Linked DNA regions of Homo sapiens: all the other regions are linked to region 1. Evidence: promoter capture Hi-C in human tissues and cell types (Jung and others, 2019). All regions are on one chromosome and are shown on one strand. The core of a region is centred on a gene start or on the middle of the fragment in contact, and the rest is flanking DNA. Distances in the headings are between cores, read along the strand shown. Region 1 holds the start of SSTR1 (somatostatin receptor 1). Region 2 has its middle 180 kb from the start of CLEC14A. Region 3 overlaps LOC124903304 (a long non-coding RNA gene). Region 4 has its middle 110 kb from the start of CLEC14A.

The links. Contacts are between HindIII fragments. The study calls those that stand out against the background at their distance.
Region 2: a contact is called between a fragment that was not itself captured here and the fragment with the promoter of SSTR1 in region 1, in 4 of the 25 tissues and cell types used here (H1 embryonic stem cells, hippocampus, mesenchymal stem cells and 1 more).
Region 3: a contact is called between a fragment that was not itself captured here and the fragment with the promoter of SSTR1 in region 1, in 3 of the 25 tissues and cell types used here (dorsolateral prefrontal cortex, mesenchymal stem cells and mesendoderm cells).
Region 4: a fragment that was not itself captured here is called in contact with the fragment with the promoter of SSTR1 in region 1 in 2 of the 25 tissues and cell types used here (bladder and stomach).

Annotation. Positions count from the first base shown.
Region 1 is chr14:38,206,274-38,209,989 of GRCh38, forward strand. It overlaps SSTR1 (somatostatin receptor 1), which reads left to right and starts at 1,631. Exons shown (of 3, transcript NM_001049.3): 1 at 1,631-1,831; 2 at 2,170-2,336; 3 at 2,773-3,716. The coding sequence starts at 3,117. LOC124903303 (a long non-coding RNA gene) reads right to left here and starts at 3,014. Exons shown (of 2, transcript XR_007064117.1): 1 at 2,809-3,014; 2 at 942-2,003. RefSeq lists enhancers at 1,433-2,094, 3,078-3,716. The HindIII fragment of the contact is 11,122 bases long and covers 633-3,716 here.
Region 2 is chr14:38,439,165-38,442,880 of GRCh38, forward strand. No RefSeq gene overlaps it. Among named protein-coding and RNA genes, the nearest start is that of CLEC14A, 180 kb to the left of the region's middle. The HindIII fragment of the contact is 5,114 bases long and covers 1-3,716 here.
Region 3 is chr14:38,382,566-38,386,281 of GRCh38, forward strand. It overlaps LOC124903304 (a long non-coding RNA gene), which reads left to right. Exons shown (of 3, transcript XR_007064118.1): 3 at 2,796-3,716. Among named protein-coding and RNA genes, the nearest start is that of CLEC14A, 130 kb to the left of the region's middle. The HindIII fragment of the contact is 3,104 bases long and covers 37-3,140 here.
Region 4 is chr14:38,364,082-38,367,797 of GRCh38, forward strand. No RefSeq gene overlaps it. Among named protein-coding and RNA genes, the nearest start is that of CLEC14A, 110 kb to the left of the region's middle. The HindIII fragment of the contact is 3,278 bases long and covers 124-3,401 here.

The DNA.
Region 1 (3,716 bases), core at 381-2,880:
TAGTACTTCATTTCTTTTTATGGTTGAATACTATTCCATTGTATGGATATACCACAATTTATTAATTCAGCAATTGATGGATATTTGGATTGTTTCTAATTTTTGGCTATTATGAATAGTGCTGCTATGAATGTTCATGCACAAGTTTTTGATTAAACACCTGTTTTCAATTTTGAGGAGTAAATAGAAGTGGAATTGCTGGCTCATATGGTCATTCTTTTAAACTTTTAAACTTTTTAAGCAATTGCCAAAATTTTTTTCTGAAGTTGCTGCATCATTTTTTATTCCCACCAGCAATGTATGAGTGTTCTAATTTCTCCACATTCTCACTAACGTTTATTTTTTGTTTTTAAAAATGTTCTTATAGCCATCCTAGTGGGTGAAAAGTGGCATCTCAAAAAAATAAAAATAAAAAGCATTCTCACGTCAGGTCTTAAGTTTTCTTCTTTTGTATATGAGGCCACAAAATTGAGAGAAATTTTCCCTAAGATGAGCTGAAAGTGAATTTAATGAAATTCTGAACAACAGAGCTGTTTTTCACTGACTCCCATCACACACTTCCCAAAGAGCAACCATGATCAAAGCCAAGGCATCTAAATAATGACTGTTGAAATCCAAGCTCCCAGAGGTACAGATAGTCAGGTGTCTTTAGTCAGTGATTGGCAGAGGCATCTAAGGCATTATATGAGGCTTGGCTAGTAAAATGCTCTTCTGGGATTCTGGGACAATACCCACTCTCTTTTCTTTTAACTTAATGAACATTTATTTTCTCTCCATATGTGCTGTATTTGTAAAGGAAAAATAAATATAACTAAACACCAATTGTACATTCCACTTTAAAGAAGGCAATTTGTTCAGGTAAAATAATGGGTTAAAACAGTTTCAGCCGTATGAAATTTCAAATTCCATCCTAGCACATTCCTCATTAATAATTGCACACATTCCTATGAAAGTCTGTCATTTATTTTAGTCTTTGATTGCTATCATCAACACACTACAGAAGTTATTCTTTCCTGTTCAAGACAATTAGTTTTGGGAACTAAAACACATGCAGTATATGTAAGTGATTACCTGGATAAAGCAACAGGGCATTAGGAAATATACTTTTTTGTTTTTAATTTCTGCATCCATTTCTTCATTCTGGACCGGTACAGATAGCCTCCATGAGGAGTTTAGCCTCTCCTTGGAGTAAACTCTACTGAGAGGAGGAAAACTGAGACTTACAGTACAGCGGGCACAGCCTGGTTGAGGAGAAGGAGAAACTAAGGAAAAACTGGAGACAGCAAAGCTTGAAGGAGGCAGAGCACTAAGCTGCTGCGGGTCACTCTTCCTGTGAACAGGCTAGTTTCAAATAAAGGCTTGCAGGGATCTTACCGAGCAAAGCAACGTTTATGAAAAGGAACAGGGAAGTTGCATGGAGTGTGATTCTTCCTTCCACAGGAACAGTTGGAAAGCCAAAGAGACCCTAGAGTAAGAATGGTGGTAAGTCCCAGGGTTCGTTTAAAATCCTGATAACGGAACATACATTCTTTCTTACGGGAAAACCGTTTTGATTCTTAAATGAAGTCAGTGAGCTTCAGGCTTGCCTACATTGATATCTCCTAATGGTTTGGGCACGTGACCCAGAGCCAGCTCACAAATCAAGCCTCAGAAAGAGCTGACATCCTAGCTCTTCCCGGAAAAACTCGAATGTCGCCCTGCCGTTCCTGGGGTTGGTGACAGGTCTGGTCATCGCACGGCGGCAGCTCCTCACCTGGATTTAGAAGAGCTGGCGTCCCCGCCCGCCCAAGCCTTTAAACTCTCGTCTGCCAGAACCCGCCAACTCTCCAGGGTACAAAGTACAGCAGGGACGCGGGTGGAGCCCTTCCAAGCGGCGCAGCCTTATCTTTCCCGAGTGAACACCTAGGTGGATTCCCAACACCGCGCCTGGCACGTTTCTGGAGGGAGTCTCAAGCTCCTCCAGAGCTCCCAGCTGCGCGTCCTCGTTTCTGCAGTCGATATTCCTGTGGGAGACACGGGGGGCTCTGAGCGCTACGAGCTTTATTAAGAGATTTGCGAATGGTTCACTCAGGTCCCTGAACACTCCCAATAGCCTAAGCTGCCTGCTGTGTTATAGCGCAGAAGCCCCTAACGCACGGTGGTTGTCCTTTCTTCTCATAACGCTCGCAGCTTAGGGCCAGTTTCCGCGATTCTAAGAGTAATTGCGTGGGCACCTGTGCTGGGGCCAGGCGCAAAGAAGGGAGTTGGTCTGCGCGAAGATCGTCAACCTGCTAACAGACCGCACATGCACTTTGCACCGACCATCTACGTCTCAGTCTGGAGGTTGCGCACTTTGGGTAAGGAGGGCCCGGAACTTCCCTGGCGGGTCTGAGCTGCAAGGCAAGCGAGGGTGGGAAGAGGGAATTTAGGGTTCTGGACTGCGGGACGGGAGAGAAGCTGGGGTCTCCAGAGAAAAGGGCAGCAATGGAGGGAAACTGAGATGAACTCCAGACATCCATGTTCATGGATCCGTTTGAGTCTTTGCTTTGGGTAGGAGAGGAGTGGAATGAGACAGAATCTATACCTTTGGTTCCCACCCGCCCTCCAGTAAGGCCGAGGAACTCTCTTGGTTCCTCTGAGAGCAAGAGGCAGATGGTGCTGCGAGGGAACCCCGGAAGGAGCCACTAAAGTTGAGCAGAGTGCAGGACTGGGAAGGAAAAAAATGGGGGGCGGGGGGGACAAGCCACCTATGTGCTCTCCTCCCTTTCTCCACCCCACCCCCTTTTTTCGTAGCTGCTGACGCGCTGGTGGTGCCTATTAATCATTTACCAGTCCAGAGCCGCGCCAGTTAATGGCTGTGCCGTGCGGTGCTCCCACATCCTGGCCTCTCCTCTCCACGGTCGCCTGTGCCCGGGCACCCCGGAGCTGCAAACTGCAGAGCCCAGGCAACCGCTGGGCTGTGCGCCCCGCCGGCGCCGGTAGGAGCCGCGCTCCCCGCAGCGGTTGCGCTCTACCCGGAGGCGCTGGGCGGCTGTGGGCTGCAGGCAAGCGGTCGGGTGGGGAGGGAGGGCGCAGGCGGCGGGTGCGCGAGGAGAAAGCCCCAGCCCTGGCAGCCCCACTGGCCCCCCTCAGCTGGGATGTTCCCCAATGGCACCGCCTCCTCTCCTTCCTCCTCTCCTAGCCCCAGCCCGGGCAGCTGCGGCGAAGGCGGCGGCAGCAGGGGCCCCGGGGCCGGCGCTGCGGACGGCATGGAGGAGCCAGGGCGAAATGCGTCCCAGAACGGGACCTTGAGCGAGGGCCAGGGCAGCGCCATCCTGATCTCTTTCATCTACTCCGTGGTGTGCCTGGTGGGGCTGTGTGGGAACTCTATGGTCATCTACGTGATCCTGCGCTATGCCAAGATGAAGACGGCCACCAACATCTACATCCTAAATCTGGCCATTGCTGATGAGCTGCTCATGCTCAGCGTGCCCTTCCTAGTCACCTCCACGTTGTTGCGCCACTGGCCCTTCGGTGCGCTGCTCTGCCGCCTCGTGCTCAGCGTGGACGCGGTCAACATGTTCACCAGCATCTACTGTCTGACTGTGCTCAGCGTGGACCGCTACGTGGCCGTGGTGCATCCCATCAAGGCGGCCCGCTACCGCCGGCCCACCGTGGCCAAGGTAGTAAACCTGGGCGTGTGGGTGCTATCGCTGCTCGTCATCCTGCCCATCGTGGTCTTCTCTCGCACCGCGGCC
Region 2 (3,716 bases), core at 446-2,945, 230 kb after region 1:
CTGGAGTGCAGTGGTGCAGTCAGAGCTCACTGCATCCTCAAACTCTTAGGCTGGAGAGATCCTCCCACCTCAGCCTCTCAAGTAGCTGGGACTACACATATGTGCCACCAAGCCTGGCTAATTTTTTTTCTTTTTTGTAGAGACAGGGTCTCACTATGTTGCCTAGTCTGGTTTCCCACCCCTGAGCCCAAGTCATTCTCCTGTCTCCGCCTCCCAAAATGCTGGGATTACAGGCATAAGCCACCTGGCCCACCAACACATCTTTCTAAATACATATCCATCCTATTGGTTCTATTTCGCTGCGGAACCTTGACTTGTCCACGGGCATTAAAAAGGGCACATAAATTTATATTGCCACCAGCAGCATATCAAAGTCCCCATCTGTCTGCATCGAGGAAAGCCAAAGCTACTTGTTCTTAATTTTCTTTATTTACCAATTTGACACAAAATACTATCACATTGTTTTAATTTCTATATTTATTAGTTAAATATAGATATTGTCATATTCTTAATGATTATTTTTATTTTTTTCACTGAGTTGCCTTTTCATCCTTTTGTGTATTTATATGTATATACTTTGAGTTGTTGTTTGTTTTTTTTTTTTTGAGACGTAGTCTCGCTCTGTCGCCCAGGCTGGAGTGCAGTGGTGAGATCTTGGCTCACGGCAAGCTCCGCCTCCCGGGTTCACGCCATTCTCCTGCCTCAGCCTCCTGAGTAGCTGGGACTACAGGCGCCCGCCACCACGCCAGGCTAATTTTTTTGTATTTTTTTAGTAGAGACGGGGTTTCGCCGTGTTAGCCAGGATGGTCTCCATCTCCTGACCTCGTGATCCACCCGCCTCGGCCTCCCAAAGTGCTGAGATTACAGGCTATATTTATATACTTTTTAAAGAAGCTTTCTAAGTAACAGATATTAATTCCTTGTCATATATGCTGCAAATGTCCTGTTTATTTACTGTTTTTCTTTTAATTCTAGTCAGACTTTATTATTTTATAAGGAAATTTTAAATATTTATGTATACAAATCCAGAATTTCGCTCCTTTATGGCTTCTGGTGTAGTGTTATTCTAAAAAAGTCCCTCCTCAATGCAAGACTATAAATTTCTATGTACATAAACATTCATAACTTTTATTATTTTATTCTCATAGCTGATTCCTTGCTTCATTTGGAATTTATTTTGGTAGAATGTGAGGTAGAGATCTAACGTTTCCCCCTATTACATCATCCATTTTTATTTCATTAATCTGAGATGCTAGAGGCACCAAGCCTCACTGTTAGGCACCACTTATTTTTATTAGGTTTGACCATTAGCAAACATCAGGATATAGGAACAGTGGCCCCTTCCTTCAGCTGGTCTTATATGACCTTAATTTTTGCAGAACTTGTTTAAATCTATATTGATCTGTACTATTTAACCTGGTATAGGATTTAGGGTGAATGAGTCCATGGAGCCCCATTTTATCAAGCTAATCTTAAGTGTCAGAGGTTTAATTCTACTCTATTATTTACTAGGTCAAAATGTTTATGCCCACTATGGGACATTGGGCACGGAACACTGTGATTGTGGGGAATATACGCAACATTTTCAAGGCTAAGGTTGGGTATATTTATTTGTCCTCTATTTTATGGTCAGTAACTCCACTAAGAGTATAGGGGGTACCTGGTTTATATTTTGTGGCATTCCCAGGTACAACTGTAATTTGAGCCCCATTAATTAGGCCATAAATGTTTTCCAATTGGCACATCTCAGCAGACATTAATTTAGTACCTATTTTGTAGAAACACAATAATCAATAGTCATTTTTATCTTTCTTTTCCACAAATTATTTTAGTGAATTTTGATTTCCAGTTGGACCAAATCACAGATCCCTGTTTCAGTGCCTATTTCTTCCCATTGTATAAAGTGTTTTTGTTGTTGTTGTTTTATTTTATGTTTAAAGTTACTGGATATACTACATGGAGAGGGGGAAAGGGGAGTTTTCTCCATTCTGCTCATTTTTGTAAGTCTCATCCTTCAGAGAGTGCTAAATTAGTATCGTGGGGTAGGGACCTCCCACATGGTGAATGTTGTTATGATGGTTTAGGGACTCCGGAATTAAGCTGGGTATGAATTAACCACTTGATATGTTGATAAGCTGCAATACTCAATAGACCCCACAATCTTTGCCCGTTCCTTTTATGGTTATTTAATAGCGTAACAGTGCCCTCTGGACCTATAATGGGGTTGAGTGTAGAGCAGTTAGGGTTGCTTTTCATAAGAGTCTATGCCATAGGAGGTACCATGGGAGTTTTTTCTGTATAATCCTGAGGACCAGGGTCTTTGTAGCAACAGAGGCATGAGTGGCAACAGCAGCAGCAGCAGCAGCAGCAGCAGCAGCAGAGCCATCTTAAGGTTTATAGAGTCTCAGTGAGCTCTCTGAACTTAAGCATGTGGACCTCAGAACACAACATAGTGACTACTCTTCCTCACACTAGCACACAACTAATGGGTCTATATACTGCACAGGGGCTCAACACCTGCTTGAGAAATTCAGCCAATGGTCATTGGGTAAAAGTTGTTTCACGTGTCCAGAGTAAGCTATGACTTATGCTGAAATTGAAATACATGGATAGATCTAAGCCAAACATATGACCCAGGCCCACTTTTAGAAGGAATTCGAATGCCACACTCCTACCCTAAATATCCTGTCAAAATTTTCAACATAATTAGTTAAATCTATACCAGAAACTTAGTAGGATTCAGCAAATGCATCACAGCACAACACAATTCAAAATGCAAGCTTACTGGTAGGCAGTAAAGCAATTCAAAACACAAACTAGCCAGGAGGCAAAAGCTCAATGTACACTGTCACCAGCAGGCAGGAGAACCAGGTAGCAAGCCAAAAACAAGAAAGACCCCCAGGTCTCCTAGTGCCAATTATTTTGTAGTTGCCCTGAAGAGAATGAGATCGACCTCCCACCTAAAATAGGTTCAGATTATCAAGACTGAGGATGACACATGTGCTACAAGAGAGTATTAAAAGGTTCCTTACCTACGTAATGGGACTTTCTGGGGACACCAAAGCAAGCACTAAAGCTGACCTGATATTACTTAAGTGAAGGGACATGCAGGTGGCTTTGGTTTTTATTGTGGTTAGGAGGTAGGACCTAGGTGACATCTTGCACACAGCCAGGGTTTGCATGGCTTGAACTTCTCCAACAGCACCAAGGGAGGGAGTACTCAGGGTTTCTTATCAGTTTGCCCAGATACGGAACAAGAGGCAAAAGGGAAAGGGCAGGGTCTGGAAGCTGTCAGCAGCCAAACATAGAACATGGAGTCAGGTTAGTTATCACAGTGTTTATTTTCATTTTGTTCCATCATTGTTAGATTTTGGCATCCGTGTTACATAAAGCGAGTAAAAACATTTTAGCAGACTTTCCACATTTTTTTCACCTATAGGATAATTTAACTGGTATGTAAATTATCTGTTCCCTGAAAATTTGCTAGGATTTACACTTAAAATCTTATCAGTCATTTTTAGAATTAATTATATGATAATTTAATTTTTCCTATGGTGATTGCTATTCTAGAGTTCCGTTTCCACTAAGGTCAATTTTTATTATTTTACGTATTCCAGATTATGCTATTTAGATCATTTATATTTTTGAAAAACAATGTAAATTTTTTAGCTTTTATTTTAGGTTTGGGAGTACATTTGAATGTTTGTTACATAGGT
Region 3 (3,716 bases), core at 339-2,838, 180 kb after region 1:
ATGACTTGCATTCCTCCACTTATACTCTGTGTCTCAGACATAAGAAGAGAAAAAGCAGGAAGCAACAGCCCCTGTTTTGCTCTTGGACATTGCAATGGGTGTGAGGGTGGAAAAAGTTTAGTCAGAAGATAGCGAAATAGTTCAGTCAGCAAGTCAGGAAAACTTCCATCATCCACCCTCTATAACATGATGGAAGAGGGGAAAAAAGTGCTTTTAAAACCATAGAGGTAGCTCCTTTTATGTTTTTGAAGCTAAGACTAATTTGATAGACATCTATCAATGTTGAGCTTTTATGTCTTTAGGTTGGTTTCATAAGTTTTTTGAAATTGAATACTTCAATTTTGTCTGTAAAAATATATTGAGAATTATTTGGAGTGCCTATTGATGGAAAGATACCAGATATTTTTATTAAGTATCTATACATTAATGTATTCCCCTGAGATTGTATTTTATCTTGTGAAATGCAAAGCTGGTTAAACCCCCACAAAAATAATCTAGATTTTTTCCATAAATGAAATGAGTACACTTTTAGCTAAAGGGGAAACAGACATTGTATAATTTCCAGGAATTCTATAGAAAGAGTAGACTTACAATAGTTTACTAAAACAACAATGTGAAAGAGACATGCAAATTGCACTCAAATCCTTTCATGCTGAATAGTAACTGGTGACAGTAACCCTGGAGATAGAGACACTGGGTCAATCTGAATAGTGGAAGGGCTATGAATGTGTAGGAAGATGTGTCTAACACATAGCTGAAAGTAGTACAATAGGGGAGTGGCATCATAATTGTAAGGTCATATTTATTGTAATAATAAAAATTGTAAGGTCCTTAAATTCCATTCTGAGTAGGAGGCATTAGATGAAGGCACCTTGTGATCCACATGATTCCAGTATCTAATTCTGTATTTGCAACCAAAGTTTATAATGGGTTATATGGGTTTTCTGTTTGCAAAGCTTTTAGCTGATTCCTATCAGCGACCTAGTCCTGGGTAACCCGCTGCCTCAAGACATTTAGAAGGCCTTGAAGACTGTGTCTCTTCTAACCCTCACCTAATTTCACAGACCTAGAGGAAATGCAGATCCTTAGTTTACAATAAGAACCAAGATTAAGGTCGTCTGAGAAGAGCTCAACCTTCTGGAGATTTTGGTAGTAGAATTAAATGCTTTGGTTTTAACTATAAAAGATAAACTTTTGAGTTCTAGAATTTATTAGATTGTCTACTCCAAGATAAGAACAATCACAATAGCTACTTATATTTTCACAACATTTTATGGCTTAAGAAGCTTTTTTAAATTCATTATTTTATTTAATCAAATTTTTACAACATAGAGGGGAAAGCCCAGGATTCAGGGTTGTTCACATGTGTGAGCCTCGTTTCCTCACCCGTGCTAGGGGTAATCACAGGAAGTCTACTTATCTCAAGGGTCAGTTGTGAATGTCAAAGAATACAGTGTTATATAAAAACAATTTTAATTCCATTGTTAGATGTTATTTTATAATAGATTCTATTAAACCACAACCTCTGAATTAATTATCTTGCACTTTTTGATGGTGGTTGATGCTGAGAATGGCTTCTTCGCTCTTACATTGCAACTGTCAAAGCCTTTAAAAACAATGACTTAATTATTTTATTACATTGACAGAATAAAATTCGTACAGTCATTTTATCTATGAAGACTGAGAATTTATTTAATGATTACCTTGGAATATATCTATTCATTAGTGGTGGAAAAAGATGAAACGTTGCCAGCAGACAAAGATAGTTATTTCTTCTTTCTAGAGATGTGAAAATAACAATTACTACTTACTGAGTCCCTACTTAGTGCCAAACACTGCTCTAGGTGTTTTGTATATTTCATCTTTTGATCCTTACACAATGGCATGTGTGTTACTGCTCATTGCCACTTAGCAGAGATTTACTCAATTAGGACATGATGAAGCTGGGATTTGAGCCCAGAGATGTTCAACTTTAAAGACACTTGCTCTTTCTAATCAATATTTTATTACATAAACATTAACTTGCTCAATTATAAAGTGTTCTTGTATCTGAATGAATGGAGGTCTGGTAGGACTAAATGGAATATATATATATCTAGGCATGTTGGAATGGCTGTTAGAAAGCAATGTTAGAACGGACACCTCTGCATGGGCTGCAATTATATTTGACTTTCTCTCAACTTCTTTATTCAGTCCTTCCCCTCTCATGTGCTTCCTAAGAGCTCTCTCATACTAATATATCAAGAAGAGGACTAAAGAGACTATTCATCAAAATACGTCTTAGGGAAACCATTATTTGTGTTAGGAAGAAATACTTTGAGAAGTTATTAGAGGATAAAGCTCCAAGGGTGGGAAACTGTTGCAAACATGGATTGCTAACATACCATGCATAAGTCAAAAAGAGGAAATTTGCCAACTTCCACATTATGTAGTCCTCTGACATTCATAGTACTCAGTAATAAGAAGAAATGAAGTAGCAGTATATGCTACAACATTGGTGTTTCTTAAAAACATTAGGCTAAGTGAAAGAAGCCAGTCACAACAGACCCCAGAAAGCCAATCTATAAAGATGGAAAATACATTAGTGGTTTCCTGGGGCTGGAGTGAGAACAGGGAATGATTGCAAATGGTCACCAGGGATCTTTTTGGAATAGTATAAATGTTTTAAAATTGGACTTTGGAAATGGTCACATGACTCTGTAAGCTTACACAACCATTGGATATTCACTTAAAAATGGGTGAATTGTATAGTGTGCAAATTATGCCTCAATAAATATGTTTTTTTTTTTAAAAAGGTGCTGCACAGTAGTCGTGTTTGCAATGCTACCACTCATGGAAAACAGCAGAGTACCTCTCGAAGCACACCCAAGAAATCGACAGCAGAGGTTGCCTCTGAGGAGGGAAATGGGGCACAGGAGCTGAGAAGAGGAGGAGAGTTCCTCTGAATGTATAATGTTTGGTGCTCTTTGAATTTTACACTATGTGCATGTAACCACTATTCAAAAATAACATTAAACCCTTTACATATTTTAGTTACTAGGAGATACTTGGCTGCTGTTCATAGTGAGGAGGTCATTAATGGTAATGGGGTCAGAAGAAACGACGGTCTAAGGGGAAAATGCTGCATTATCTATTTTCAGAAATGATCATTTTGATCTATTATTCAGAATAATATTGATTTGAACAGCAATACCCTATAACCAAGGGACCTGAAGGGAACAGTATGCAGAGCCTAAGATAAAGAAACCTGTATATTTTGTTGTGGTGAGAGTGCTGAAAGTGGAGAGTGGAAAGTCTGAGCCTTTACGTTTTTGATGCCAGAGTAATCATTCAGAAGGCTTTTGAAGAGTAACGTATTGACTACACTCTGTTACATTTCAGTCATTTTGCTATCATCCTTTTTTCCAGTACATGCCATAGAATGTAGCAATTCAAGAGCAAACTGTTGGAAAACATGCTCAACTCATCTTCCTCAGCTTGTTATTTCTTCAAATTATCTAATTCACTGTGCTTTTTGGATTTCTTTTTGCTATAGATGGTTTTCCATACAAGTGAAATTGCTAAATAATTGTCAAGCTTCTGCTCCACTTAGAAAATATTCACCAGTTATAACAGATTACATCCTAGTACTCTTAATTCCATAATAATGTATATCTTTGGAATCTTGACGATTTTCAACTCTTAATCCATAGCTCAAGTCTTCTGTCTGATGTTGA
Region 4 (3,716 bases), core at 513-3,012, 160 kb after region 1:
CAAAATCACATTGTCCTGGATTTTTATCTCAAATACCCTTTGTTTTTAATATTACCCAGGCTCTATAGCTGGTATGTAGGTAGCAGATAGTCTAAGTGTTATTTCAGGGTAGTTTTCCAGTTCTTTATCCATATAAGTCATCAGGGACCTACCACAACTCCCTCCTTCCCCTCCTATGATATTTGCTCCTTTTATCAAAGTTTGTTTCGTGGATTCATCTAAGTGTTCTCCCTCATTCCCAGTAAGATTGCAGACCAGCAATCTTGTATGCTTCTCCCCTCAAGGAGTGCTCCCCTCAATTTGGAAAGGGTTCTCTTCTCAATATCTTCAACTGTGTTTCAGTATCCAAATACAGTTTGTTGATAGCATCTGCATCTTTCAAGTCTTTCCCCGCTTGCAGGGTAGAGAGCTGCTCCTTAACTCTCCACCCCGACTCCCTAAACTATCCTTGCTGATTAGGTAAGTCTTGGTTACTAACTAGGAAATGATCATCAATTACCACCGGACTTTAAGTGTACTATATTTATATATCTATATGTATATTCCTATCTTCCAGACTCTGGTGCAAATTTGCAAATTGAGCAGACTATTTTTTATTGGACATTCTAAGCTGCTATACAGCTACTATATATTGAAGCTTTATTTAACTTAAATAGATGAGATAGGTGGAATGAATGATTTTCATTTTACATTTAGGAACCTGAATCATCTTTGAGAAAGCAGGAGAGAAACTTGGCCACAGAGTTAGAGGGAAGGAAGCTATTTTCCTGAATTCCAATTCCATGTTCTTTGGAGATCTTCCTTGATAATCTTTGTCGCCTTTCTCCTCAACTAGAAAGTGCTTAGCGTTACTATCCCTCATGTGAGACATCCTGTGCTCTGACAATGGAAAATGAAAAATCATACTCAAAGATCTATTTTTGTTCACTTCCAAGCAAAGTATAGATAAAGAAGATCCAAAGAGGTGCTTGAATGGAATTTTCAGTTCATGTAAGTGTCCACATTTCTCTCTCCTGACTATTTCAAAAGTGATTGCTAGTTGAATGTGCCTTTGTAGCATGTCAGTATAAACCATTTTGATAGAATTATATGTTTCCTTTTCACCTAAGATCCTCCTTTCCCCTAAACCTTTTGTTCTGTTCTTGTCTCTAATTCTGTCTCTTCATTGGAAGTGATTTACTCAGGATACAAAAGTCACTCTCTGCTTCTTTCCAAATGTCAGTCCTCAGAACTTTCTCACACACTCTTAGAACCATATCAGAAATAAAAAAGACTCTCAAATCAGGCTTTAATTACAATCACTCTTGAGGGCACATCAGCCTCTCAATAACGACTAAGTTCACAGTATTCAAAGAACAACTCAAAGTATAGCATGTCCCAGTGCCCCACATTTTTCAGGCACTAAACGGTCTCATCATTTTTTTAGTTTCTTTTTTTTTAAGCAAGAAATATGCTTCAAAGAATAAATTTACAGACTTCAGTTTTTACACTTGGTTCACTGTTATGTATAATTAACACATTCCTGTTCTCCTCTCCACTTAATTTAGAACAACATTAAATTTCCATGCAGCTCATCAAAAGCATATGTGGATTATTGGAATGTAGTTAGGAAACTCAATCAGTAGGAATTTCATCCAAAAACACCTGGAACCCAGCTTACCAGATACAAGTCTATGAAAACTTGTGAAGGAGACAGTTTAGCATGTTTCCCTCTGGTTTGGTGTGTTGGCTCTTCTCTAAGTATCTTCCTTGCCACCTCATCACCATCCTTGGCTCAGAAGGCCTCCTGGAGATGAGAAGCTTCTCTTACAGGAAGCATGTCTCCCAACACTCACACTGTAAAGTACCACTTTACCAACTAGGTGACTTGGTAAAGCTTGTATGGTATTATATAGCTGTTCTTGCAGTGGCTTCCTGAACATAATGCCTCTCCCTTGCCTTACAGGCCCATTAATAATTCTCCTGGGAGGAATTTTTGTTTAGGAGACAAGAATATCTTTTTCCTAGATGATCATTAAATATTCCTCAGTATAAAAAAAGCCATGTGTTGATAATAATAACAATCATAATATTAATGAATAATAACAATAACAGACATTCATAGGGGACTTATTTTGTTCCAAAACAGTGTCCTAAGTGCTTTCCACATTATTTTAACTTATATCATCATCATAAAACATCTTACTGGTTGAGACTGTTATTATCATCATTCTACAGACAACCTTTTGAAGAGGAGCAGAGATTGCCTTACCACTGACTAAGGAGTGTCTTCCTCCTACTTAGGGTTCGGTAATGACGTGAAAAGCATTTTTAAAAAGACAGTAAATGGAGCATATTTGGGGTATGCATTTTACTATTGCTGGTGCCGATATGTGCTACAGCAAAACCTCTGCCAAGAGAGGATAAAAGGAGTCAGCTCATAGTGGGTGGATACTAGAACTAGACAGAGGTTCAGATTGACATTGTTTAGGGGGATGGGGAGATCTAACAGGAAAAGGAGATGACTCAGAAAGAACTTCCCCAACAGTTTAGGATGCCCCCTAATGATGGGAACATTCTAAGATATCCGCTAGAGAAAAAGTCCAGGAAGGTATGGCATAGATTTCTCATTGCTGCTTCAACATTCATTTACCCTTTCTTTATTAGTAAGAGAGCTCCAATTTTATTTAGGGTGGCAATGTGCCTAGCTAAAATAATGCATTTCCCAGCTTATCTTGAGATTAAAGTGGCCACTTCACTGAGCTATGACCAGTGAGAAGTAAACAAAAGCTATTAGAATGAGAAGACAGACAGCTGGCATGTGTCACTTTGCCCCTTCCTTTTCCACACCCTACCTCCTAGAATGCAGATATGATAGATGAGGCTCCAAACACCATTTTGGACTATTGTGGTGATCCTGCAGATGGAAGCCAAATAATAAGAATGGAAGAGCAGATGGAAGTCAAATAAGAATGGAAGAGCAGAAATAGAGATGGAGGATGAGTCCCTGATGATCATGGGGTCACCATATCTTCCCCAGACTGCACATCTCCAAACTTATTTTATGTGGAATAAAATATATCTTCATAAGTTTAAGCCATTGATATATCTGACATGTTGTTATATGCAGCTGAACATGATTCTTAGCGGATCCACAAAGTTAGCTGAAGGTTTTATGGGCAGCAGAACCTTCCCTTTACAAGGAAAGAAAACTCAAAAGACCCCTCTACCAACAGACAGCAAAGGTCCTGTGGAGAGAGGCCAAATGAAGAGATCCAAGCTAGGAATTTCCCAAGCCCTTGAACAAGACAATCAACCTCCTTGCTTCTCAGTCCTCCCACTGACAAAATAAGAAAGCTAAATGTGATTATTAAGTCTCCACTCCAGGTAGAAAATTCTGCAATTTTACAATTATGAGCGAATAAGACACACCAGTGTTGCTAAAAACCTGCTGAAAGGCTATTAGAGTAAAGGTGCTATTTTCTCCTGTAGGGAGAGGTAACTTAATCAGATTTGACTGAAACCCAGTCCGAGGCTGTCTGGCCACTTGGCACAGGGTTGCTACTACTTTCGGATCAGCTTGTGATTGCCATAATCAGGGACTATTTGATTGGACAAACAAGTTCATTTCAACAGACTTAAGCATTCCTTATCCTAGTAACACAGGGATATCTTACTGAAGCAGAGAACACCAGGGCAGGAAGTCCAAACAGGAAAACTGAGAACTGGAAAACCAA